Regions from separate parts of the Homo sapiens genome. Here all the other regions are linked to region 1. The links are contacts of gene promoters, found by promoter capture Hi-C in blood cells and fetal thymus (Javierre and others, 2016). All regions are on one chromosome and are shown on one strand. The core of a region is centred on a gene start or on the middle of the fragment in contact, and the rest is flanking DNA. Distances in the headings are between cores, read along the strand shown.

Region 1 (6,263 bases), core at 1,261-3,760:
GTTACAGGATTCCCTGCACAGGGATGAATAAAACTGGGGTGTCTACTCTGGCTGATTCCATGGGAGAGAAGGGCATACACCTTCATAGACGGTAGTAGAGAAATTCAATTCTGATTTCTCAGAAAGGGAGGTAGATTCACAAAGAGAAACAGGGCTTGAGGCCAAAACCACTTCATCCACAAAAGTAACAATTCTCCAGTGAGTCACAAATCCCCAGCATTTCCCTAGGTAGACAGGAAATAAATGGAAACCACCACCTTTTCCTATCAGTCTTCAAATTCTATGTGACCATCCTTAGTCCTTAGCCATTTCCTTCCCATATTCCTGCAAACTAACCAAGAATACTTTCCTTAACTACAACTGGATGATCACACCCCTTCCTAACAAAGGGATCAATCCCAGGCCTCCTTTCCAGAGGCAGCTTCCACCTCAGGGGTAGAGTGGTTTTTGGGAACACTCACTCACATTCTTAAAGAAGTGGCGGGCAACTATTTCAGGGTTCAGCTCCCATTTGACATTGTTCTTCATCCCTACCTCCAGGCGACAGCTTTTTAGAAATTTCACTGTCTGAAAGGAATTATGAGTTTGAGTCAAAGGAGAGGAAACATGTCAGGGTCACAGGGTATGCAAGCCAAGCAAGATGGCTCATGCCTGTAATCCCAGCACTTTGGGAGGCCAAGGTGGGTCTCCCAAAGTGGGTCACTTCAGCCCAGGAGTTTGAAACCAGCCTGGCCAACATGGCGAAACCCTGTCTCTACCAAAAATACAACAGTTAGCCGGGCATGGTGGCGGGTGCCTGTACTGATTATCTTCTCATGTGTCCATGTTCTCTCCAACTTGTACGTAAATATCCTTGAAGGCAGAGCCCTCATCTCAGACTATTCCATGGGTTCCCTGATTCCCAGATTGGGACCTCCCTTGGTACTTTAAGGCACTTCACCCAACACATCAGGGATCTCCCAAGAGGTCTCCATACCTGTTTTGTGGGGCAGCCACAACACTTCCCCTTTCTCCCACTCTTGGGTCTGCAATCAGGAGACCTCAAGGGAATCAGGGAGACTCTCAGGGTGAGGTTGGTAAGTCTTGTGACAAATAAACACTTTTTATGTTTCTACTCACCGCCTCACCTGCCTTGGTCTGGATCTTCTCTAATTTTCCTTCTTGTCTCAGCTAGAAAAGAAAGTTAAAGATGAAAAGCAGTAAAAGAAAAATGAGCCCATGTTAAATAGCATCAAACTATTCCTATGTTGGACATTGGCTGGGCTTCTGCATTCCTGTTCTTCTAGTTCCTATTTCATTTTCAAGTTAAGTTAAATGTCAAAGGGAAGGAAGCTGCAAGAGAAAAGAAGTTTTATCTCCCCAAGTCTCTCTGTCCTTCCTTTGAGCTCACCAATTTCTCCTCTTCAAACAGCTTCTTGTTTTCAGGGGATGCATATACAGCCAGTCCCTGAGGAAGGAGTCGATTCCGGCCTAAAGATTTCTTCACTGAGACCAGGTCACCCCGGACTCCAACATCTGTCAATTAGAACAGAGACAGGGGAATTAGAACCATCTAGGAGTCCCTAAAGAAAAGATGTCAAAAAGAGAAGCACCTCTTAGTTTCTCACAGTGCTTATTTTTCCTAAAAGAAATGCTAATTCATATTCACTAGGAACAAGATTTAAGAGACTGCTAATTAGTTTCTTTAGAACTTGATGTATAAATTTAATATCCCCTGTATAGAGGGAGTTGTCGTCCCATGGAGGATTTCAGTATCTGTGGCACAAATTGTCAGGCTCCTCTCCCCACACACTGTTAATGATGTTGCTGCCTTTATGTTTTAATTTTCAATGCTGGAGGCCAGTGTCACAATCACAATAGTTTTTATGGCTTCCTCTTCTCACATATAGAGTTGGATTGTTTCCACAAAGAAAAAGCAAGGCAAATAGTTGAGGGGGACGGGCTAGAAAAAGCTGATGCCAAACCGGACCAGCCTGAGAGGAAGCGCCTCGGCCCGGGCCTTACTCTCCACCGACTGCGTCAGGATGAGCTCCAGGTTTTCTTTGGGCCGATGCTTCGTGTCCTCCACCAGCTTATAGACGCGATGTCGCCGGTGCAGGCGCGGCTTCCGGCCCTCCCCGGCCAGCGGTACCTTCCACCAGCGCTCCACGATGACCGTGCCCTGGCGGCCAGGAAAGCGACGGTAAGCTAGTCTCCACAAGGAACACCCTCTCCCTCCACCACGGCCGCCAGCCCCTCAAGGAAAGCCCGCCACCCCCACATCGGCCCCCTCCAGGTCCCAGTGCGCCTCCAGAAACAATACTCGAGCGTATCTACCCCCTACCCCAGACTCAGCCCTCACCCGATTTTGAGAAAGGCTGAAGTTGCAGGCCAGGTCAGGGGCGTTCCCTTCATGTCGCGGCCGCAGTAGCTCCTGGACGCCTCCCCGAAGCAGCCGTCCAGCGCCCGCCCGCAGCAGAGCTCTGCCCGGGGCCGTGACAACGGGCGCCGCCATGTTCACAGGCACAGAATGAGACCTGAGGGAGGACCCCGGCGTCGGCGGCAGGAAAGGCCCCCGCCAGTGCTGCCTGCGGCGCGCCGGTACGGCTGAGCGAAAGTATGGGGAGCGGGCCGGGGAACAGATGGCACCGCGGCTTGCCTATTTTTGCTTTTTGGCAGAGGTGACGGACGCCTAGAATTACTGACTGATAATGGAATGAGTGTTAGGTGGACTGACGCCGGAAAAGACGCTCTTCCTCTTGAAAGTGTGGGCTTTGCTGTAGCTCCAGTTGCTGGGCTAACTTTTAATTCTAACGTTCTGTGATGACTGGATACTGACCGGAGAATGAATGATGCTCTCACTTTTCCTTACTTCAAATCTACCTAAAAGTGGTAAAGGATGGGATCCCTTGGAAAACTCTGCCAGCTCCAGGAGGAGCCTGACCCTTAATCATTATACTGCAGTATTTAAGCTAATAAAGGAGAATTCTAAATCACAAGCTATGTAAACCGTAGAAAAAAAAGCAACTATGGTAAGGCCGCGACAGTTCCCTCTGGGGAGGGTCTCAGTACTGGACAGAAGACCATAAAAACTGGATGAAAGAAGGTCCATTTGGCAGAGATTATGGAAAGACTGGCCCTTAAACATACTGACCAGTCCTCCTTCCTCCTAAATACACTACTTGGCCTCCTGGACACCGGTCTTCTTCAGTCTCGTTTGCTGATTTCTCCTTTTCTCCCCGCTTCTTAGAATGCCCTCGGGACTCCGTTTTTGAACCTTTACTCTTCTCAGTATACACTCACTGTTGATCTCATCCAGTCTCGTGGCTTACAATACCATTTATAAGCCAATGACTCCCAAATTTCTAGTTCCATCCTAGACATCTCCCAAACTCGTCTCAAATATTCAACTGTTTATTCGTCATTTTCCTCTTACGTATCCAAAGGACACCTCAAAGTTAACTGTCCCAAACTAATTTATTTATTCCCCCCTCGCCCCCAAAACTGCCCCATCTGCAGCCTTTTTCCTCTCAGTTGACAGAAACTCCATTCTTTCCATTCTAACTCTTTTCTCTCATACTCCATCAGGAAATCCTGTGGGTTCTACCTTTAAATTACAGATAGTCCCTGACTTGGATTTACAATTTTTGAGTTTGTGATGGTGTGAAAGTGATGTGCACTCAGTAGGACATCAATAAGTTACATGAAATATTCAACACTTTATTATAAAATAGGCTTTGTGTTAGATGATTTTACCCAACTGTCGGATAAGTTGTCTGAGCATGTTTAAGATAGGCTAGGCTAAGCTATGGTGTTTGGTAGGTGTATTATATGCATTTTCAACTTATGATACTTTCAACATACGATGGGTTTATCAGGACATAACCCTATTTTAAGTCAAGGAGCACTTGTATTTCCAGAATCCAGCCACTTGTCACCACCTCCAATGCTCTACCTTGGAATAAGACACTACTTTCTCCTGGATTACTGCAATAGTCCCCTAAAAGATATCCCTTAATTCTCTACAGTTTATAATTCTATGTAGCTTATTTATAGCAGCCAGAATGATCTTTTTAAAGCATAAGTCAGATCATGTCATTCTTCCACCCAAAACTTTGTAATGACTTCCTCCTTTACTCAAGGTAAAAGAAAAAGGCCATCAGATGGTCTACAAGGCCATACATACTCTGACCCCATTAGCTCCTCTCTAATTTACACTGCTCCACCCACAGTGGCCTCCTTGTTTCTTGAAAACACCAGGCACGTTTCCTGCTCAGGGCTTTTGCACTGGCTGCTTTTGCGTTGGATGCTCTTATCCTCAGATGCTGGCTTGGTTAACAACCTCACATCCTCCAAGTGTTTAATTAAATGTCAGTTTTTTTCAGTGAGAGATCACCCTATTTCTTACTGTAACCCTGACCCATCCCCTTCACATTCCTTATCTTCCTTTATCTTGCTCTATTCCCCCCACCCCATAGCAGTTACCTTCTAACATACTAAACAATTTACTATGTTTATTTTCTAGGTTTGTCCTCTCACTTTTAGAAGATACGTTCCATAGGGCAGGGATTTGTTTTGTTCACTGATGTATCATCTCAAGCACCTAGAATAGTGCCTGGCTAATAGTAGACCCTCAATAAATATTTGTTGAATGGATAAATATGCAGAGGTCTCAAAGTGGCAGTCCCAGAACCAAATTTTGCTTACAATGTTGTTTTTTTATCAACAATTTTTTAGTAGTTGATTTTTTTTTTTTTTTGAGTTGGAGTCTCGCTATGTTGCCCAGGCTGGAGTGCAGTGGCACGATCTCAGCTCACTGCAAGCTCCGCCTCCTGGGTTCACGCCATTCTCCTGCCTCAGCCTCCCGTGTAGCTGGGAATACAGGCGCCTGCCACCACGCCCGGCTAATTTTTTGTATTTTTAGTACAGACAGAGTTTCATCGTGTTAGCCAGGATGGTCTCGATCTCCTGACCTCGTGATCCGCCCGCCTCGGCCTCCCAAAGCGCTGGGATTACAGACGTGAGCCACCGTGCCCGGCCCAGTAGTCGATATTTTTTAAAATTGGTGAGATTTACTACAAAACTGTCTTTCCAGTTTCTGTTCAAAAATCATACGATACAGCACCATCAAGTCTGCATTCTTGCATGGAACTGGATGGAATTGAGTTGTGTGGACTTCCTTTAGATAACGTGTGAGCTTTCCTATTTTGCTACAGCCCTACCCTGCCACTCCACTAATTTCCATAAGCTGTCTAGGCCCCTGAAGGGGCCTAGACAATTAGTTTGCAATTCCTACCCTACAAGGATCCTGGGTTATTAAGGGTAGGGATGATAATAAAAATACTCAACTGGTATGAACTGGGAACCAACTAATCAGGTCACCACTGGATCAGAGCCTTGGAAGAGTCAGATACCAACTCTTTACTTGCTGGATTTTGGGGGAAGGGGAGTGTCCACAGAGGAGCAGGGTGGGTGGGCACAAGTGCTCAGGCAGGGCTTTTGGCCAACCAGTACAGAAGTCTTCAAGTTCTATTTTTTAATCATTCATACAGCCATAACATGCATACTAGTCGAATATGAGCCTTGGATAAGGGATTAGGGTAGATAAGCAGCAGAGTGGAGTCCTGAGGTGACATAAGGGCTGACCCCTTATCCATGTCATAGTGCCCACTGGGTCACAATGCCACCAGGTTGCCTAAACCTCTGCCACCCACCTGTGAACTTCACTTTGCCACAGGGAGGCACTGAACTGAAAAACTGCCTTGTAAGAGGTGTCGCCCCTCTGTCTACTCCCTTTCTTATATCAAGAGGGGAAAAACACGTAACTACCTCTACCCGATCTGGTCACCATACGCCTATTACCTTTACTGTTACAAGTACCGGATCACTCTCCGGGAGAAGATGCTGCCTCGTTGTTATAAAAGGTACTTGTTTTCATCTCTATTTGTAGTTGTTTATATAAAATGTAAGGAAAAAGTAAAAGAATTTGAAAGAATTTCCCAAATGGCAAGAAATAACAACAGAATAGGGGGTGGAAAGCTGGCATGGAACTTTAGAATTTTTCCATCTGGTTGGGCCCAGGAACATAGAAACAGGCTGGACAACAGAAAATACAGAAGATCATGCCAGAGCCTGGTACTGTGTATCTTCCCACCTCAGATTCCAAGATAAACTAATTTGGGTCTCTTTCCCAACCAGCATCACTTATAAGGAAGAGGAGGACTTGACACTCCAGCCCCGTTCCTGCCTCCAGTGCTCCTGAGTCCCTAGTAGGCCTCCAGGAG
Region 2 (6,648 bases), core at 1,049-3,548, 280 kb before region 1:
GCTCCACAGATTGGTGTTGGTTTGCAAATAGTTTGTTACTGGTACTTGACAATATAAGAATAGAAATGGAAAGTAAACCTTTAGAAAGCTTTATAGCAATCTGGGGCCAGGCGCGGTGGCTCATGCCTGTAATCCCAGCACTTTGGGAGGCCGAGGCAGGCGGATCACTTGAGGTCAGGAGTTCAAGACCAGCCTGGCCAACATGGTGAAACCCCGTCTCTACTAAAAATACAAAATTAGCCGGGCATGGTGGTGTGCGCCTATAGTACCAGGTACTCAGGAGGCTGAGGCAGGAGAATCGCTTTGAACCCAGGAGACGCAGGTTGCAGTGAGCCAAGATCACTCCACTGTACTCCAGCCTGGGCAACAATATCAAAACTTCGCCTCAAAAAAAAAAAAAGTTTTATAGCAATTTTGATACAGTAATTATCTGTTGAATCTAAAATTTAAAAATTGGGGCTGGGTGCGGTGGCTCATGCCTGTAATCCCAGCACTTTAGGAGGCCGAGGAAGGCAGATCACTTGAGGCCAGGAGTTCGAGACCAGCTTGGCCAACATGGTGAAACCTCGTCTCTACTAAAATTACAAAAATTAGCTGGGCATGGTGGTAGCCACCTGTAATCCCAGCTACTCAAGAGGCTGAGACAGTGAACCCAGGAGGTGGAGGTTGCAGTGAGCTGAGATCATGCCACTGCACTCCAGCCTGGGTGACAGAGTGAGACTTTATATATATGGCTTAATTTTCTTTTTTTTTTATAATTAACATTTTATATTTTAAAAAAATATAAAAAAACTGAACTCACTGCCTTTGGACTGTAAGAATATAAGGAAAAAAAATTGAACTCACCATTGGTAAAGGGTCATAAAGTTTTTATGACAAAGGAAATAGATGCCCTGATATTAAGAAGACAACAAGAATTTAAAAGACCTTTAGTTCTCAGGAACCAGCACTAAAAAACTCTGATTCAGAACCCCCAGAAATGAGGCAAAGATGATAGATGAAATGTTTCAAACTGTGTTAACAAACAGTGCAATCAGAGGAAAAGACAGGAGCAGCACAGAGAACAGCATTGACAATTTTAAGAGATGAGGGCAACCACCCTACCCAAAATTCATCACCTTTTTCTTGGAAGGGGCCTGGAAATTAAGTACAACTTGGAAAGCAGGGACTAAGAGAACATTATATTAAATAACTCTTCCCGCCGGGCATGGTGGCTCATGCCTATAATCCCAGCACTTTGGGAGGCTGAGGTGGGTAAATCACAAGGTCAGGAGTTTGAGACCAGCCTGGCCAAGAGACCAGCCTGGCCAATATGGTGAAAGCCTGTCTCTCCTAAAAATACAAAAACTAGCCAGGCGTGGTGGTGGGTGCCTGTAATCCCAGCTACTCGGGAGGCTGAGGCAGGAGAATTGCTTGAACCTCGGAGGTGGAGGTTGCAGTGAGCCGAGATTGCATCATTGCACTCCAGCCTGGGCGACAGAGTGTGACTCCAACTCAAATAAATAAATAAATAAATAACTCACTCTTCCCTTAAATATGATCTGGCCACAGGACCAACTCTGTAAACAGGGTAATTTTTTTCCCTATGGTAATGTAAAAAGTCAATTAAATTTCCTTTTTTCTTTTTCTCTGTTTATGATTCTTCATCATTCAGCTTAAAAAGTCAGGTAATCTTGACTAGGTGTGGTGGCTCATGCTTGTAATCCCAGCACTTTGGGAGGCTGAGGTGGGCAGATCACCTAAGGTCAGGAGTTTGAGACCAACCTGGCCAACATGGTGAAAACCGCGTCTCTATTAAAAATACAAAAATTAGCTGGGCATGGTGACAAGCACCTGTAATCCCAGCTACTCGGGAGACTAAAGCAGGAGAATCTTTTGAATCCAGGATGCGGAGGTTGCAGTGAGCCAAGATTGCACCACTGCACTCCAGCCTGGGTAACAGAATGAGACTCTTTCTCAAAAAAAAAAAAAAGTCAGATAATCAAAAGACACTTTTTACTGTTCTAAATTATAGGATTTTCAACATTGTTTCTATCTAATTCAGCATCATTTTACAATTTTATTTAAAAGTAGTTAATTGGATGGGCATGGTGGGTCACACCTGTAATCCCAACACTTTGGGAGGCCGAGGCAAGAGGATTGCTTAAGTCCAGGAATTCAAGGCCAGCCTGAGAAACATGGTGAGACCCTGACTTTAAAAAGAAAAAAAAGGGGAGTGGGCAAAAAAAAAAAAAAAAAAAAAAGAAATTGATTCAGGCCTGCCTTAGTCTGAAAAAATTTTTTACTTTCCTATGGACAGTACCTCAGCTTGGTCCAAAATATTTCCCCCATTACTGTTTCTGAAAAAGGATGTCAGAGATGCTATTTCAAATCACTGAAGACTAAGTTGAGCCTGCTAACATTGGAGAGAACAAACTTGAAGGCAAGGAAGGTTTAACCCCAACACTGCTAAGTATCCTGCTACTACTCGATAGGAGATGACTATCAGGAGTTTAGATCTTCTTGGTCACCAAAGCCATCTGGCTAGTGGGACAGGGCCCTGCTACCTTGATTTCTCTTCTACCAAAGTCTCAATTTCAGAAATTCTTCACTAAAAATTCTTGGTTGGGTGCAGTGGCTCATGCTTGTAATCCTAGCACGTTGGGAGGCCAAGGAGGGCAGATCACCTGAGCTCAGGAGTTCAAGACCAGCCTGGACAACATGGCAAAACCCCATCTCTACAAAAAATATAAACATTTTGGCTGGGCGCGGTGGCTCTGACCGGGCGCGGTGGCTCTGTCCAGGCGCGGTGGTTCATGCCTGTAATCCCAGCACTTTGGGAGGCTGAGGCGGGTGCATTGCTTGAGTTCAGGAAGTTAGAGACCAGCCTGACCAACATGGTGAAACCCAGTCTCTACTAAAAATACAAAAATTAGCCGGGCATGGTGGCAAGCACCTGTAATCCCAGCTACTTGGGAGGGTGAGGCAGGAGAATGGCTTGAACACGGGAAGCAGAGGTTACGATGAGTCAAGATCGGCCAGGCGCAGTGGCTCACGCCTGTAATCCCAGCACTTTGGGAGGCCGAGGCGGGCGGATCACGAGGTCAGAAGTTCAAGACCAGCCTGGCCAAGATGGTGAAACCCCCATCTCTACTAAAAAAAAATACAAAAAATTAGCTGGGCGCAGTGGCAGGCGTCTGTAGTCCCAGCCACTCAGGAGGCTGAGGAAGGAGAATCATTTGAACCCGGAGGGTGGAGGTTGCAGTGAGCCGAGATCGTGCCACTGCACTCCAGGCTGGGTGACAGAGTGAAACTCCGTCTCAAAAAAAAAAAAAAAAACAAAACAATGAGCCAAGATCACACCATTGCACTCCAACCTGAGTGACAAAGCGAGACTCTGTCTCAAAAAAAAAAAAAAAAAAAAAATCAGCCAGGCATGGTGGCACATGCCTATAGTCCCAGCTACTCCAGAGGCTTAAGCCTGGGAGGCAGAGGTTGCAGTAAGCTGAGATCACACCACTACACTCCAGCCTGGGTGACAGAGCAAGACCCTGTCTAAAAAAAAAAAAAAAAAAAAAAAATTGAAAAAGCAATTTGGGCTTTGTTTTTTAATGTCTTTATTTTATTTTATTTTATTTTGTAGTTCTAGTAACTAATTTTTGCGTATTTTACAAAAATGTTGGCCCATAATGCATTACAAGGAAAAAAATCTTGTTCCTCACCACATACGGTTTGAGAAGCACTAGTATATGTTACATTCCTTCATATTTGTTCTGCTAGAACTCAATCTCATGGTCACATCTAACTGTAGCAGAAACTGGAAATGTGATCTAGCTATATGCAATGGGAAAAGAGAAGAACACAGAACTTGGTGAACGCTAGAAGTCTCTGGCATGCTTAGGTTGCACACTCACAAGCACAGCATAATGTGTGAAATGGAAGAGAGAGGACTAAGTGCCCAAGGGGAGGTTGAGCTGCAGGAGGTATATCCATGCTACTTTCATCCAGCCTGGAGAAGATTGCCAGCTGCTGGTATTAGTTACCGTCCAGAAGGCTTTGGCTGCAAAAGCCAGGAGGACAAATGTTGTCTGTATTTACTGTGCTCATTTCTCTCACATTCTGGCTTTTCTTTCTATCCTCCCCACCATGCCTTAGTTTACCATTTCCTACTTAAGCATCAAAGTAGCCTCATAACAGGGGACCCTACCGTTAACTTCACATCATCCACCTCCATGTAGCCTGTGACTCTCACCATGTTACTCTTCAATAGTTCCATATCACTTACAGGATTGAGTTAAACTTTTGTCATAGAAAGCCTGTAAGACCATTCACAATCTAGTCCCTTGCCACCTCCTAGGCCTCGCCTCCCCACTGTGCCATTGGCATCCCATGCCCTAGTCTTGCAGACCTCCTCACCACCCCCTTAGCACTCCATGCACTGCCATGCTTCCTTGCTTTGGACTTGTGAGTCCTCACTGGATTTATTCCCACTAGTCTTTTAGCTCTCCATTTAATGTTTCTTCATTTGTGAAAGCTTTCTTGATTCTCCTTTGTTTGGTGAAGCACCCCTTCCTCCACAAGCATCATAATTGTTGGGTAAAGAATAGCTATCTCTAGGCTGGGCACAGTGGATCATGCCTGTAATCCCAGCACTTTGGGAGGCTAAGGCGGGAGGATCACTTGGGCCCAGGAGTTTGGGCCCATCTTGGCCTCCCAAAGTGCTGAGATTACAGGCATGAGCCACTGCGCCAGCCTTTCTCAAACCTTTTATTGTCAGGGGATAGACAAGAAAGAAAGTCTCTACTCTCCTGATAGTCTAAAAGTTGAAAACAATTCATTTATTACCTGACAACTATTCACTGAGTATCAATTATTGGCCAGAAACCACATGACACACTTGAGATACACCAATAAAAAAACATGTCTTCAGGCTGGGCACGGTGGCTCACTCCTGTAATCCTAGCACTTTGGGAGGCCAAGGCAGGCGGATTGTCTGAGCTCAGGAGTTCAAGGCTAGCCTGGGCAACATGGCGAAATCCCTTCTCTACTAAAAATACAAAAAATTAGCTGAGCATGGTGGTGTGGGCCTGTAATCCCAGCTATTCGGGAGGCTGAGGCACGAGAATTGCTTGAACCTGGGAGGTGGAGGTTGCAGTGAGCTGAGATCACACCATTGCACTCCAGCCTGGGCGGCAGGGTGAGACTCTGTCTCAAAAAAAAAAAAAAAAAAAGAAAAAAGAAAATGTTCTCAGGCCTCATTTGCTCATAGTCTAACGGCGAGAAATATAAGCTGGAGTAGAGTGGTGTGAACAGTTTTGACCTCCTGGGCTCAAGGGATCCTCCTGCCTCAGCCTCCCCTGTGGCTGGGACAACAGGTGTATACCACCATGCCCGGCTATTTTTTTGTGTGTGTGTGAAGATGGGGTTTCACCATGTTGGTCAGGCTGGTCTTGAACTCCTGACCTCAAGTGATCCACCTGCCTCAGCCTCCCAAAGTGCTGGGATTACAAGCATGAGCCCCCGTGCCCAGCCAAATTTTCTGTTTTATGAAGCCAAACCAAATCCTAATTAATACAAGGGGAATATTAACAGAGTAACTCCATATTTTAGGTATTTTATACATATACTGCTTTTTATCTTCATGACAGTGCTACAAAAATTGGCCAGATTACACCTTGCTAGCTATGTGTCATTAGGTAAGTTACTTCACCTTTCTGTGCCTCTATTTCCCCATCTGTAAAATGAAGACAATATAGCATCTCCTCTAGAACTGTGAAGATTGGACAAGTTCATGTAGGTAAAGTATTCAGAATTGTGTTTGCCACATGGTAAGTGCTCAGTGTTAGCCATTATTGTATTTGCAATAACGCAATGATATTCAGAGGCCTATTATAGCTCAGAAAGCTTTAGTAATTTGTTTAAGTGGTGACATACTAAGTGGTAGGGCCAAGATTCAAACCCAGAGCCGTCTGACTTTTAAAACTGTGCATTTCCCCATTGTACCTGTGAAGGACTCAATGTGGGTCAACTGCAGGGTGGAGGGACTAGAGCTGGGATGGGTAAATGAAATACTGCCTTTTGCTCCTGTGTAACTCGGTGAGTCTTCCCAATGGAGGCGCTGAGGTCCATCTCGCCCTCTCATGGCCATAGGACTCACTGTGAGCTCCTGGCAATCAGTGAGGGAAGCCAGAGGGGAGCAAAGGGCTTGGCATGGCCCATCTATGGAAGAAAGATGGGGAATTCAAATAGAAAGGAGACAGCTAGCAAATTCAAGGGAACCATGCTTGGCTTAATGCCCAGCATCCTAATCGCAAGTCCATTCCCAGAGCTAGAAGTATCAGCCTCCCATGAAAATGAAACCTAGAAAACTCCAGGCAGTTGATAAGACTTTTAAGTACATGATATGAGGCTCTCAAGAGAAGAAATGGGAATCCCCTCCCAAGGACCTCATCATATAATTAATCCATTTAAGCAATCAAAAGGCAGAACTGTATATTCTTATTACATGCATGACTATAAGCATGATTCTAGAGTCAGACTGTCAGGGTGTGAATCCTGCTACTTACTGTATGACCTTGGGCAAGTTACTTAACATCTCTGCACTTTGATTTCCTCACTTAAAATGGAAATGATAATACTTCATAAGGTCATTATGAAAATCAAATGAGG
Region 3 (6,266 bases), core at 1,682-4,181, 300 kb before region 1:
AGAAATTGGTTAGTCCACTCAAACGACCATCCACCTGTTTATTCTTCCCCAGACAAAAACTACCTCTTTTCAGGTAGCTAAGAAATTTTGTCCTTTATTGCCTTCTGAGATTATAAAAATGTAATATTTTCCTTGAATATTTGAAAATGTTTGCTATTTAAGCAATACACAAATATTTGCTTCAAACCAAATGTGAAATCAAGGTACTTGGTGCAGAAAGGGGAAATCCAGAACTATGTTTATTTGTGCTCTTTATATACACACTCCATTCAAACCACCAGACTGAAAATAGGCAGTGGAAGTAGGCATTCCAAATTGTATGCACCTGCCCGTGTGAGTGTGCACATGTGCATACACATACACACACTGCCACCACCCAGTTTCATTCCATTTCATACCAAAACCATGTGAGTGATTTCCACTAGTGTAGGATGCTTAGGAAGGACTTCATTATTTGAATGAGAAGAATCACTAAATCCTTCTGAAAATACTTCTGAAGACTTTCCAGACCTGATCTGGAGAAGCCCATATTAGGATTATGGGATCAATCACCAAAAGACTACATGAAACTCAAATCCTATTTTATACTGTCGTGTAATTAGTATAATTCATTATATATGTTATATTTACATTATGTATATTACGTTATTAACCTTTGAAAAATTCCAACATATTTCCCCATGCCCTGTCAATTTATTCTCCCAGCCAATGAGATCTAGCGCAGACTATGCCATATACCGTTGACCAGTAACTGTTAGCATGCTTTATTGAAAATGGATCATGCATCCATTCATTCATTCAATGAATATTTATTGGGGGCTGGGCATGGTGGCTAACACCTGTAATCCCAACACTTTGGAAGGCCAAGGGAGGAGGATCACAGCAGTCTGAGGGCAGCCTGGGCAACTTAGCAACATCCCATCTCTACAAAAAAAAATTTTTTTTTTTTAAACAGAGTCTCGCTCTCTCCCCCAGGCTGGAGTGAAGTGGCGCGATCTCGGCTCACTGCAACCTCCGCCTGCTGGGTGCAATTCTCCTGCCTCAGCCTCCTGAGTAGCTGGGACTACAGGCGTGCGCCACGATGCCTGGCTAATTTTTTCTGTTTTTAGTAGAGACGGGGTTTCACCAAGCAGGCTGGTCTCGAACTCCTGACCTCGTGATCTGCCCGCCTCCGCCTCCCAAAGCGCTGGGATTACAGGCGTGAGCCACCGTGCCTGGCCCCAAAAAATTTTTTTCATTAGCTGGTTGTGGTATTCCTAGATACTTGGAAGACTTGGGAGGATCACTTGAGGCCAGGAGTTTGAGACTGCAGTGAGCTATGATGACACTACTTGCACTCTAGCCTGGGAGGGACAGAGCAAGATCCTGTCTCAAAAAAAAAAAAAAAATTATTGAGCACATGTACTAGGCACTGTTTTAGGTGCTGGGAATACAGCAGCAACAACAACAACAAATACCTGAATCTGTGGGATTTATACTCTAGAAGGAAAGAGACATAAAATATACACATAAACAAATTGTTCTATTGTCTATTGTTAAATAACAAATGACCCCGAACTTAGTGGCTTAAAACAACAATTTCATTACCTCTCATGGTTCTGGGAGGTAATTAGGCTCAGCTAAACAGTTCTCACTTGGGAGTCTCGTATGCAGTGGCTAGGGCTGAAGTAATCTCAAAAGCTTCCTTACATGTCTGGAAGTTGAGGTTGACTGTTGGCTTGGACCGCAGCTGGGGTTGTTGGCAGACCATTTACAAGTGGCTTCTCCATGTAGCCTGGGCTTCCTCATATCATAGTGGCTGAGTTCCAAGACTGAGTGCCCCAAAAGGACCAGACAGAGATCGTGACCTAGTCTCAGAGGTCATATAGTGTTACTTCCATTACAGTTACAGGATGGAGAGCATAGATCCCCATCTCTCAACGGGAATAGTGGAAATGTCACATTGTAAGAAAGTGTGCGGAAAGGGAAATCTTGTGGCCATCTTGGAAAATGCAATCTGATATACATTATGTAAATAAATATGGATTATATGAAATGGTGATAGGTGCTATGAAGGGTAAAGGGCAGGATAGGGGAATTAGGAGTGTGGTGCAGACATGGGGGTGGAGAATTTGCTATTTTATGTGGGGTGATTGGAGAAGTCCTTGTTAAGGTGACATTTGGGCAAAGACCTGAAGAAAGTGAAGCAAAGTTTAGGTTTTACCTGTAGTGAAAATGAAGCTGCTGGAGGATCATAAAGCAAGTAGTGACACGGCCTGACTCACGTTTTTAAAGGATCACTGTGGCTGCTTGTGAAGAATAACTAATAGAGGCAAGGGCAGATGCAGGGAGACCAGATAGAAGGCTATTGCAATAATCCAGGTGAGAGTTGATGGTAGCTTGGACCAGGATGGGAGTTGTGAAGCTGCTGCTTCAGGTGATTGAGTTCTGTGGTGTGTTACTTACTCCTCTCTATTTTTCTGTCATTTAGTTTGTGCCCTGGGAGACAGTTTTGACCCATAATGCCCAATAAAATGAGTGATGGTGCTATGCCTGCCACCAAGAATACAGAAAGTCTATCATGCTAAATGTAAAAGTGGGAGTTTTGCAGGATCTGGAGGCACCTTTGAGGAAATGGGTGAGGAAACAGAGGGTAAAGATCAACAGGCAATTAGGGAATGGAGTGTCTTTTGACGTTGTAAAAGGTATCCTGGCCAGGTGTGGTGGCTCATGCCTGTAATCCCAGCACTTTGGGAGGCCGAGGTGGGTGGATTACAAGATCAGGAGTTTGAGACCAGCCTGGCCAACATGGTGAAACCCCATCTCTACTAAAAATACAAAAATTAGCCAGGCGTGGTGGCACATGCCTGTAGTCCTAGCTACTCAGGAGGCTGAGGCAGGAGAATCGCTTGAACCCGGGAGGTGGAGGTTGCAGTGAGCCGAGATCACACCACATCACTCCAGCCTGGGTGACAGAGTGAGACTCCATCTCAAAGAAAAAAAAAAAAAAAGGAAATGATGAGCAAAGACATTTTATACCTTCAGAAGATTTCAAGGAAACTCTGCCACCTTACATTACAACACTGGTGCAGCACTTCAAAAGAGACTATACAGTTAACACTGCTATTTCCAGAAACGTATTCCTTGTGCTAAAGAGAGAATGCTCATATTAATTTGGACAGTGTTGGAACATTTTGCTTCTTCAGCTAAAACACAGGTTTCCAGAGTGAAGTAACAGAACTGATAGCTTTGGTCTCTCTTTTGGACCATCTGGATAATGGTTTGAACCATCTTGATGATGATGGGAAACCCAAGTAGTAGAACAAATAACCTGAATCAGATCCTTAGAAATCAACTCGTATGTGCCTCTGTAACATACTGGGGAGGAATCTGAAAGCCAATCCAGTCTGATATGTTGAAGAAATTTGATCCTAATAGTGGTACTCCTAAAAATTATTCCAGTCTTCAGTAGCCAACTTAGAAACTTTTTCTAAGAAAGAAAGTCAAAGGTTAATGGATGTCCCAAGCTGAGCTTTTCAGTTACATAGCTGGAGAGTGTTTCTTTTCTACAGTTTATGGAAATACTTACTTGCTTCCTTGACTTACGGTTTCTGCCACAAGTTGAAAATTGGGGCTGGGCACGGTGGCTCATGCCTGTAATCCCAGCACTTTGGGAGGCCAAGGCAGGCAGATCACCTGAGGTCTGGAGTTCAAGACCAGCCTGGCCAAAGGTCTTTAGTAGAGATGGTGAAACCCCATCTCTACTAAAAATACAAAAAATTAGCCAGGCGTGGTGGAACGCGCCTGTAATCTCAGCTATTTGGGAGGCTGAAGCAGGAGAATCACTTGAACCCAGGAGGTGGAGGCTGCAGTGAGCCAGGATTGCACCGAGCCAGGATTGCACCATTGCACTCCAGCCTGGGCAAGAAGAGTGAAACTCCATCAAAAAACAAACAAACAAACAACAACAACAAAACATACAAAAGAAAATTGGAACCACCTGTAGCTTGGAGAATGTTAAAGAAGAGAGACAAATGATTTCAGCATGTCTTCAAAAGCATTGAGTCATGGATGCCCTCGGTGGCATCATTTTGCTAAAATGCAGACCTAATCACTTATTGTTCAGGTTCAGCGTGAGGTTGACTGGTATGTGTTTGGGCGGGGAGTAGGGAGGCTCAGATGGTGAGGTTAGTCCAGGCAGAAATAAGCTTCGTGGGAGATAATGCCAGATTTCTTTAAGAAATGGGTAACAGCCGAACACGATGGCTCACGCCTGTAATCCCAACACTTTGGGAGGCGGAGGTGGGCAGATCACAAGGTCAGGAGTTTCAGACCAGCCTGACCAAAATAGTGAAACCCCGTCTCTACTAAAAATACAAAAAATTAGCCGGGTGTGGTAGTGCATGCCTGTAATCCCAGCTACCTGGGAGGCTGAGACAGGAGAATTGCTTGAACCTGGGAAGCGAAGGCTGCAGCAAGCCGAGATCACGCCACTGCATAGCATCCCGGGCCACAGTGTGAGACTTCGTCTCAAAAAAAAAAAAAAAAAAGAAAGAAAGAAATGGGTATCCCACTCTCTGTAATGCACACTCAGGATTGTCAAAGCTGGAACCTCAAAGAGAGCTACTCATTTCAGAAAACGTAAGAGAAAAACAGTAGAGACATTTTTACCATCTGAGCAGCTCCCAGGTGGAAAAGATGGATAGCTGATTGCACTGAGCCTGGGATTCAGCATGTGTATAAGTCAGCATGTGTGGTGGAAGGAAAACATTGAGGTGCTTAACTTGACAGGCAAATTGCCATGAAATAAAGGGCAAGTGGAGATCTACATTTGACCAATGTCAAATTAAAAAATGGGGAAGTTAACAGCTGTGGCCGGATTTTATTTAGGAATATTATTTGCTACCTTCTTATGTTTAGAAGAGTTGGGGACTTTCCTAGAGACACAGGAGGTGAGAAAAAGCCTGAGGAAGTTCTCAGCCTGGGTTTCTAAAGGAAGAATTCCCATTAGCTTTCAGTAAGAAGCAATTAAGATCTCTGTCTTCAAAATATATTTCATAAGAAATGCATGAGCAGCAGTGTTATCATCATCAAGAGCTCACTGTGAGTTGCTGCATGGTTTCCTAGGAGGTAATGATGTAGTTTAACTTCGAATTAAATTAATATTTTAAAGAGATACCCAGAAGCAAAGCTATACTTGTCTAATCTAGGTTGTTGCTATGGAGTTGACCAGGTATGATTATCAAGTAATTAAATTGACTCCATAAAGCTTCATGACAAAATAAATTGGACTATTTTATAGGTATGCTTGATATATGACTTGTTCCTGATAATGGATTGCAGAGTAAAATGTAGTAAAAATTCCTTTTCCTCTAGCATACATTCTTTTTAAATTTAGCAGTGTTTATATTTTATTATAGTCATGCATAATTTTCAGAATGCAACTGTGGACAGTAAATAGCTTTTCCAATTCATATTTTTGAAGGACATGATGATTAATATCATTGTTTTACAGATGAGAAGACTGAGGTATCATTCAGAATTAATTTTTTTTTTTCAGGCAGAGTCTTGCTTTGTTGCCCAGGCTGGAGTGCAGTGGTGCAATCTCGGGTCACTGCAGCCTCCGTCTCCCCAGTTCAAGTGATTCTGCTGCCTCGGCCTCCCGAGTAGCTGGGATTACAGGTGCCCGCCACCATGCCTGGCTAATTTTTGTATTTTTAGTAGAGCTAGGGTTTCACCATGTTGGCCAGGATTAAATTTTTTAAAGGTTTCTGGTGTAGATAAGTGGTCAGGTCCGTTTGGGTCTTCTCTTATTACTGAATATGTACAATAGGAGTTAGAGGTGGCAAAGGGGCCATCTCCCATGACAGCAAAAGATCATCCATTTTTAATGACTTTTCTGTTACCTGAAACATAGAGGTAATAAAATCTGACAACGTGAGAGTGCCACGATTCACCAGTTTAAAATCATTTTATAGGAGGAAAATGATTTAACTTTCATTCATTCAGGAAATAATTCTTATTTCTCAGCTTTCACATAAATGTAGCTGTGTGTATAAGTGCTGTGCATCAGGTGTGAATAAGAGTTTTCTCTTTCCTACGAACCTTGCTTCCTGGCAGGCTCTGATCTCTGTTTCTCCTATTCAGAGATCTTATTCCTAGCCTAGAAAAGTGAGTCTTAAACTTTTCTGCATCATGACCCCCTCAAAAATCTCTATAAAAGCTATGAATTATCTCCCCCAGAAAAATGCACATTTGTACATATACACAACATTTTGCAAGCACTT
Region 4 (5,944 bases), core at 389-2,888, 260 kb before region 1:
GTTAATTACACATCTTCAGCAATATCCTTGTTTTGACTGCACATCCATTTTGCCCCCTAAGGATAGCATGTTTTATTAACCATCGATACAACTCTTCATGTCAAGCCCCTTGCCAGTCTCTCTGATACTTGTAACCCCCATCCCACGGCTTCTGGCAATTAAGTGCTGCCACCAGCCTCTACTACCTCAGTACACCCATCATCCTTGTCACTATAACAGAGCCAAGCTTGTGACAGTGTCTCCTCCTGTTAGCACTGGCTTGTAGAAGAAAGCCACAACTAAGCTTCTGTGTGATGCTGGCACTTTCACCAGCACATTTTTGATGGCCTTGGTAAATGGGATTCCTGGCTGGTGCAGTGGCTCACACCTGTAATCCCAGCACTTTGAAGGCCAAGGCAGGCAGATCACCTGAGGTCAGGAGTTTGAGTCCAGCCTGGCAAACATGGTGAAACCCTGTCTCTACTAAAAATACAAAATTAGGCCGGGCGCGGTGGCTCATGCCTGTAATCCCAGCACTTTGGGAGGCTGAGACAGGTGGATCATGAGGTCAGGAGATCGAGACCATCCTGGCTAACACAGTGAAACCCTGTCTCTACTAAAAATACAAAAAAAAAAAAATTAGCCGGGCGTGGTGGCATGCGCCTGTAGTCCTAGCTACTCGGGAGGCTGAGACAGGAGAATTGCTTGAACCTGGGAGGCGGAGGTTGCAGTGAGCCAAGATGGCGCCACTACACTCCAGCCTGGGTGACAGAGCGAGACTCCATCTCAAAAATAATAATAATAATAATACAAAAATTAGCCGGGCGTGGTGGCGTATGTAATCCCAGCTACTGGGGAGGGTGAAGCAGGAGAATCACTTGAACGCGGGAGGCAGAGGTTACAGTGAGCTGAGATTGCACCACTGCACTCCAACCTGGGTGACAGAGCGAGACTCCATCTCAAAAAAAAAGGGATTCCTCCGGGCCTTCTATGGAGCATTCTTAGAATTCACTCTATCATGCCCGTTTTGCTGAGCCATTTAATCTTTTCTTCCCCCAGTTGCTCTGGCAATACAGACATTTGACCTTCACTCAGCAACCATTATCATTTCCTCCATGCTCCTAGGAGCCACTAGGGGCAGGTCCTTACCAGGAAGTTAAATTCCTTTTTATTTTTATTTTTTTTGAGACGGAGTTTCATTCTCGTTGCTCAGGTTGGACTGCAATGGCACGATCTTGGCTCACCGCAACCTCCGCCTCCCGGGTTCAAGCAATTCTCCTGCCTCAGCCTCCTGAGTAGCTGGGATTACAGGCATGCGCCACCACACCTGGCTAATTTTGTACTTTTAGTAGAGACGGGGTTTCTCCATGTGAGTCAGGCTGGTCTCGAACTCCCGACCTCAGGTGGTCCGCCCACCTCGGCCTCCCAAAGTGCTAGGATTACAGGTGTGAGCCACGGTGCCCGGCCAGGAAGTTATATTCTATCCCAAGAAAGTGGTCCCCAAGTTAAAAAACTTGCCCTTAATCCACTTTTATATTTCATCCCCTTGATTAAGCACTGTCAAAATCCAATCCCATGGGTACTTCCCTACTCTTACCACTAAACGTTGGCCAGTTCTTGCAGGATACTTTGGGTTATAGTCCCTTTCTTTCCTTATTAGGCCTAGTATGTCCTTAGCTACCAGACTATGCTGTAATTTAACCCATGAGAGTTTAAGATTAAGATCTTCACAGTCAGGAGATCATGGGAGGGGAGAGGCCTCTGCAGTGTCTTAAGGCTCTGAGGGTTCAGAGGAGTGCAGAAAGCCAGAATCTTTGGGGGGACCTGCCCAGATATTTCTATTCCACGTATTAGGGTCCCAGGTTTTCCCAAGCAGAGTCCTGACCTTGATTGCAGATCTGCCTCTGGGAGCTCTATTGAAGTCCTCGAGTTTGGTCTTCAGATTTTTTTGCTCTCTCACTGCTATAGATAAGGGCCTCTTTGTAAGCCATCAGAAAGGCCCTCTGACCTTCACAGTTAATTTCCAACGTTTGTTAACTACTCTCAGCTTTTCATTTTCTCCTGGCAGGGCCCAGTGCAACTTAATAACAGCCAGCCAATTCCATTGTCCCTATACTCACTGCTGTCCCTCCGCCTACCCCCTATGCCTGAACTGTTCCACCACAGGAGCATTCTCTCATTTCACATCAGTGAAAATTTAGCAACTTGGCTACCATCTTGTTCCAGAGACTACCTGTACCCCACAACATCCAGGAGGGGTTCTTGTTGCCAGCCAGGCAGTGAGTACTGCAGTTCCCTAAACCTATCTTACTGCTCGCTTTTTCAGACCACTTCTGGAGTGGTCACCTGAGTCAGTTCAGGTGGTCTGGGGAGCAGATACTGAGACAAAGTTAGGAGTGCAAGAGGCTTACTGGCTGGCAACACCTGTGAAAGATAAAGAAGGAGGCAGGAATGGGCAGAGAAAGACTTTGGATAGGCTTCCCTATCCTGATAAAGTAAAGGAAGGCAGAAGCAAAATCGGGCAAGAAAAACCTCAAGCTGTGGTGCAGATCCTTCCAAGTGGCAGTCTACCCAGTGGAAAGCACCAGGGCAAAGGTTATCACATAGAGAAATCAACAGTGGGCAGAAACGGCCAGGTCCCAGTAACCACACTGTCAGTCATTGGCTTGGGGCTGTTCAGGAAGAGTGTGGCCTTAGCTCTGACATGGTAGTGGATCCCAAAGGTGATGCAGCTGTGGGCTGACAGTGAATTGCTTTCTGGCAGTTGAATGGCAGATTCTTTCTAAGGGATGTCATGGCTGCCACATCAGGTATTTTTGTCTTGGAGTTCAGTGCTATTTCCATATGTCATTTTGCCTCTGTATTATGAGACTTATACTTTGAAAAAGATTCAGATAAAAAACCTGAGCAAATCAGCAATTAATGGGATTCTGCTAAAACTCTTTGCCACAGTGGACTGTGAGAGAACTGGAGGAGTCTCAGGGCTTGCGGGATGTGTGTATAGGTTTGAGCTGCCAAGCTTCTGTCCCCTTCATTGATGAGAGGAGGAAAGCGAGATGGGAAGTAGAATCAGCTGTTGTTTGGGTGTGTGGAGGAAAACTGGCTCTCTCCTCAGAATGGCGTTTTAACAACCCAGAAAAAGAATTACACGAAGGAATCTGTTCCTTTTAATTTCTTTTTTTGTTGTTGTTTTTTGAGATGGTGTCTTGCTCTGTTGACCAGGCTGGAGTGCAGTGGTGCGATCTCGGCTCACAGCAACCTCTGCCTCCCGGATTCAAGCGATTCTCGTGCCTCAGCCTCCCAAGTAGCTGGGATTACAGGCACATGCCACCATGCCCAGCTAATTTTTTTTCTTTATTTTTAGTAGAGACGAGATTTCACCATGTTGGCCAGGCTGGTCTCGAACTCCTGACTTCAGGTGATCCACCTGCCTCAGCCTCCCAAAGTGCTAGGATTACAGGCTTGAGCCACCATGCCTGGCCTGGGAATTGGAAATATATGGCCTGTCTTGCTCTTTTTTTTTTTTTCCTTTTAAATGATATTCTTATTTTGAATGTAGACTGAAGGCCAGGTGCTATGGCTCACGCCTGTAATTCCAGCATCTTGGGAGGCCAAGGTGGGTGGATTGCTTGATCCCAGGAGTTCAGGAGCAGCCTGGCCAACATAGGGAAACCCCATTTCTACTATTTAAAAAACAAACAAAAAAATGAATATATACTAGAGACTTTGAACTTACTGGAATTTAGCTGCTCAGAGAGTTAGAGATGCGCAGCTAGGACAATAGGGGCTACAGGGTGTGGTGAGATACAAGGAACTTGGAAATGAGTCTTTCCCTTGTCGGGGAGTGACTCTGATTAAACTGAAAAAAGTTGCTTGGAATGCTTTGTCCCAAACAATTATCCTTTATGTACTAGATTTGGCTACACTTACTCACGTTCCTAGCTGATAACAAAAGGAAGAGGTGGGAGGCAGAACATGACTTTTTCCTCTTCAAGAAACCCAAAGGAAACAATACAGTTATGAAATCTGGGATCATCTTCATAATTCTCAGAGAAAACAGAGCCCCAAATATTTTGAAGACTTGGCTAGGAGTACAGCTTTCCCAGAAGTAAAATTAGAATACAGATATCTTGACTCCTGACTTGGTACGCTACCTCAGTGATGTCCATTCATGAAATCTCTGTAGCTCTGCCTCCCTAGTCAAACTGAGAAAAGAGTGGACGACATGGGTCACAAAGAATGAAATATCTTTTGGGGACTCTTGGAAGTCCTGTACTCAAAGATTGGACATGTATATAAAGTGAGTATATGCAGTGACCATTTCTTATCTTCCCTAACCAGAATAGAAATTGTACTTAGCCAGGAAAAGCCCCAAGTGTTAGTATAATTACATATTATTATTGCTGTTGAAGAGCAAAGTATTTGTAAACAAAGCTCAAGAGAGAAATGATGAGTAATACGCTAAAAGAGCATCAGGGTGAGTGGTCCTTGCTTTTCCCTCCTTTTGCCACCACTGTGGTTTTTTTTTTTTTTTTTGAGACAGAGTCTTGCCCTGTTGCCCAGGCTGGAGTGCAATGGCACGACCTTGGCTCACTGCAACCTCCGCCTCCTGGGTTCAAACGATTCTCCTGCCTCAGCCTCCCGAGTAGCTGGGATTACAGGCGCCCACCACCATGCCCAGCTATTTTTTGTATTTTTAGTAGAGACGGGGTTTCACCATGTTGGCCAGGCCACCATGTTGTTGAACTCCTGACCTCAGGTAATCTGCCTGCCTCAGCCTCCCAAAGGGCTGGGGTTACAGATGTGAACCACTGCGCCCGGCCACCACTGTGGTTTTTAGGGTTTACCTCAATCAAGCCTTACCATTGCATTTATCATAGAGACTTTCTGAAGTACTGCCTCTTTCCTGCTCAAGAACATTTAATAGCTCTCCATTACCTACCAATAAAGCCCACATTTCTTTTTACTTCTTTCTTTTTTTTTTTTCTTAAAGAAACATAGTGTAGCTCTGTTGCTCAGGCTAGAATACTGTGAAAGCCCACATTTCTTTTCTTTTCTCTTTGTCACCCAGGCTGGAGTGCAATGGTGCAATGGAGCGATGTCAGCTCACAGCAACCTCTGCCTCCCGGGTTCAAGCGATTCTCCTGCTTCAGCCTCCTGAGTAGCTGGGATTACAGGCACCCGCCATCATGCCTGGCTAATTTTTTTGTATTTTTGTAGAGACAGAGTTTCACCATGTTGGCCAGACTGGTCTTGAACTCCTGATCTCAGGTGATCCACCTGCCTCAGCTTCCCAAAGTGCTAGGATTACAGGTGTGAGCCACCGAGCCCAGCCGAAAGCCCACATTTCTTATTCTGATATTCTAGGCTTTATACAATCTACCCCAGAATTTACCTATCATCTTATTTACCACTATTCTCTGTCCCTTTGCTCTACAGGCTAACCTTCCAGTTCGCTAAACTGACATGATGCTTTTCTGCCCCTAGGGCCTTTGCACGTTTTCTTGCTGTCTTTCTTCCTTCCTTTCCCCTGCCTGTTTTTTCAAGGCCCAGATTATAAATCACTCTATTCTAGTTGAAAGGGAAGCTTTCCAGTAACACTTCATTTGTGCCATTGATTTGGCATTTATCATATTCTTCCTTAGGCTTGTAGATAATACCAGCAGTTCCAAAACCTTTTAACAAATTCTCCAGCCCTGAGAATCACTTCTCTTTGGCAGGTCCAGTAATCTGGTGAACTAGTTACCTGCCTCAACTTTCTCAACTCCTCACTCTTTCACATCTGTTCTTCCAATTTAAGTTCCAGAACAGAGACTTCACCTTCTCCTCTAAGTTCCAAGTTTTGACTATTTGGCTGTTCTCTTTTTCTCTTTTCCTCTTTCTCCCATCTCATCTTAGTTCTTGAATCTTGTCTCCTTTTCTAGCTTCTTATTAAAACATAACCAAGTCTCTTCTTCTTCTCCTT

Evidence for each region. Contacts are between HindIII fragments. The CHiCAGO score rates a contact against its expected background, and 5 or more counts as called.
Region 2: a fragment that was not itself captured here is called in contact with the fragment with the promoter of MRPL9 in region 1 in 1 of 17 cell types (M1 macrophages); the score reaches 5.8 in M1 macrophages.
Region 3: a fragment that was not itself captured here is called in contact with the fragment with the promoter of MRPL9 in region 1 in 16 of 17 cell types (M1 macrophages, M0 macrophages, M2 macrophages and 13 more); the score reaches 15.0 in M1 macrophages.
Region 4: a contact is called between a fragment that was not itself captured here and the fragment with the promoter of MRPL9 in region 1, in 3 of 17 cell types (M1 macrophages, neutrophils and M0 macrophages). The highest score is 7.4, in M1 macrophages.

What each region holds. Positions count from the first base shown.
Region 1 is chr1:151,760,986-151,767,248 of GRCh38, forward strand. It overlaps MRPL9 (mitochondrial ribosomal protein L9), which reads right to left and starts at 2,511. Exons shown (of 7, transcript NM_031420.4): 1 at 2,342-2,511; 2 at 2,005-2,161; 3 at 1,391-1,515; 4 at 1,120-1,170; 5 at 466-567. The coding sequence starts at 2,494. It overlaps OAZ3 (ornithine decarboxylase antizyme 3), which reads left to right and starts at 5,670. Exons shown (of 5, transcript NM_016178.2): 1 at 5,670-5,903; 2 at 6,178-6,263. The coding sequence starts at 5,737. It also overlaps a transcript of TDRKH not described here. RefSeq lists an enhancer at 2,282-2,661. The HindIII fragment of the contact is 8,401 bases long and covers 1-6,263 here.
Region 2 is chr1:151,479,778-151,486,425 of GRCh38, forward strand. No RefSeq gene overlaps it. Among named protein-coding and RNA genes, the nearest start is that of POGZ, 24 kb to the left of the region's middle. The HindIII fragment of the contact is 4,425 bases long and covers 87-4,511 here.
Region 3 is chr1:151,460,155-151,466,420 of GRCh38, forward strand. No RefSeq gene overlaps it. Among named protein-coding and RNA genes, the nearest start is that of POGZ, 3.8 kb to the left of the region's middle. The HindIII fragment of the contact is 2,507 bases long and covers 1,679-4,185 here.
Region 4 is chr1:151,500,566-151,506,509 of GRCh38, forward strand. No RefSeq gene overlaps it. Among named protein-coding and RNA genes, the nearest start is that of CGN, 7.8 kb to the right of the region's middle. RefSeq lists an enhancer at 3,326-3,826. The HindIII fragment of the contact is 2,715 bases long and covers 282-2,996 here.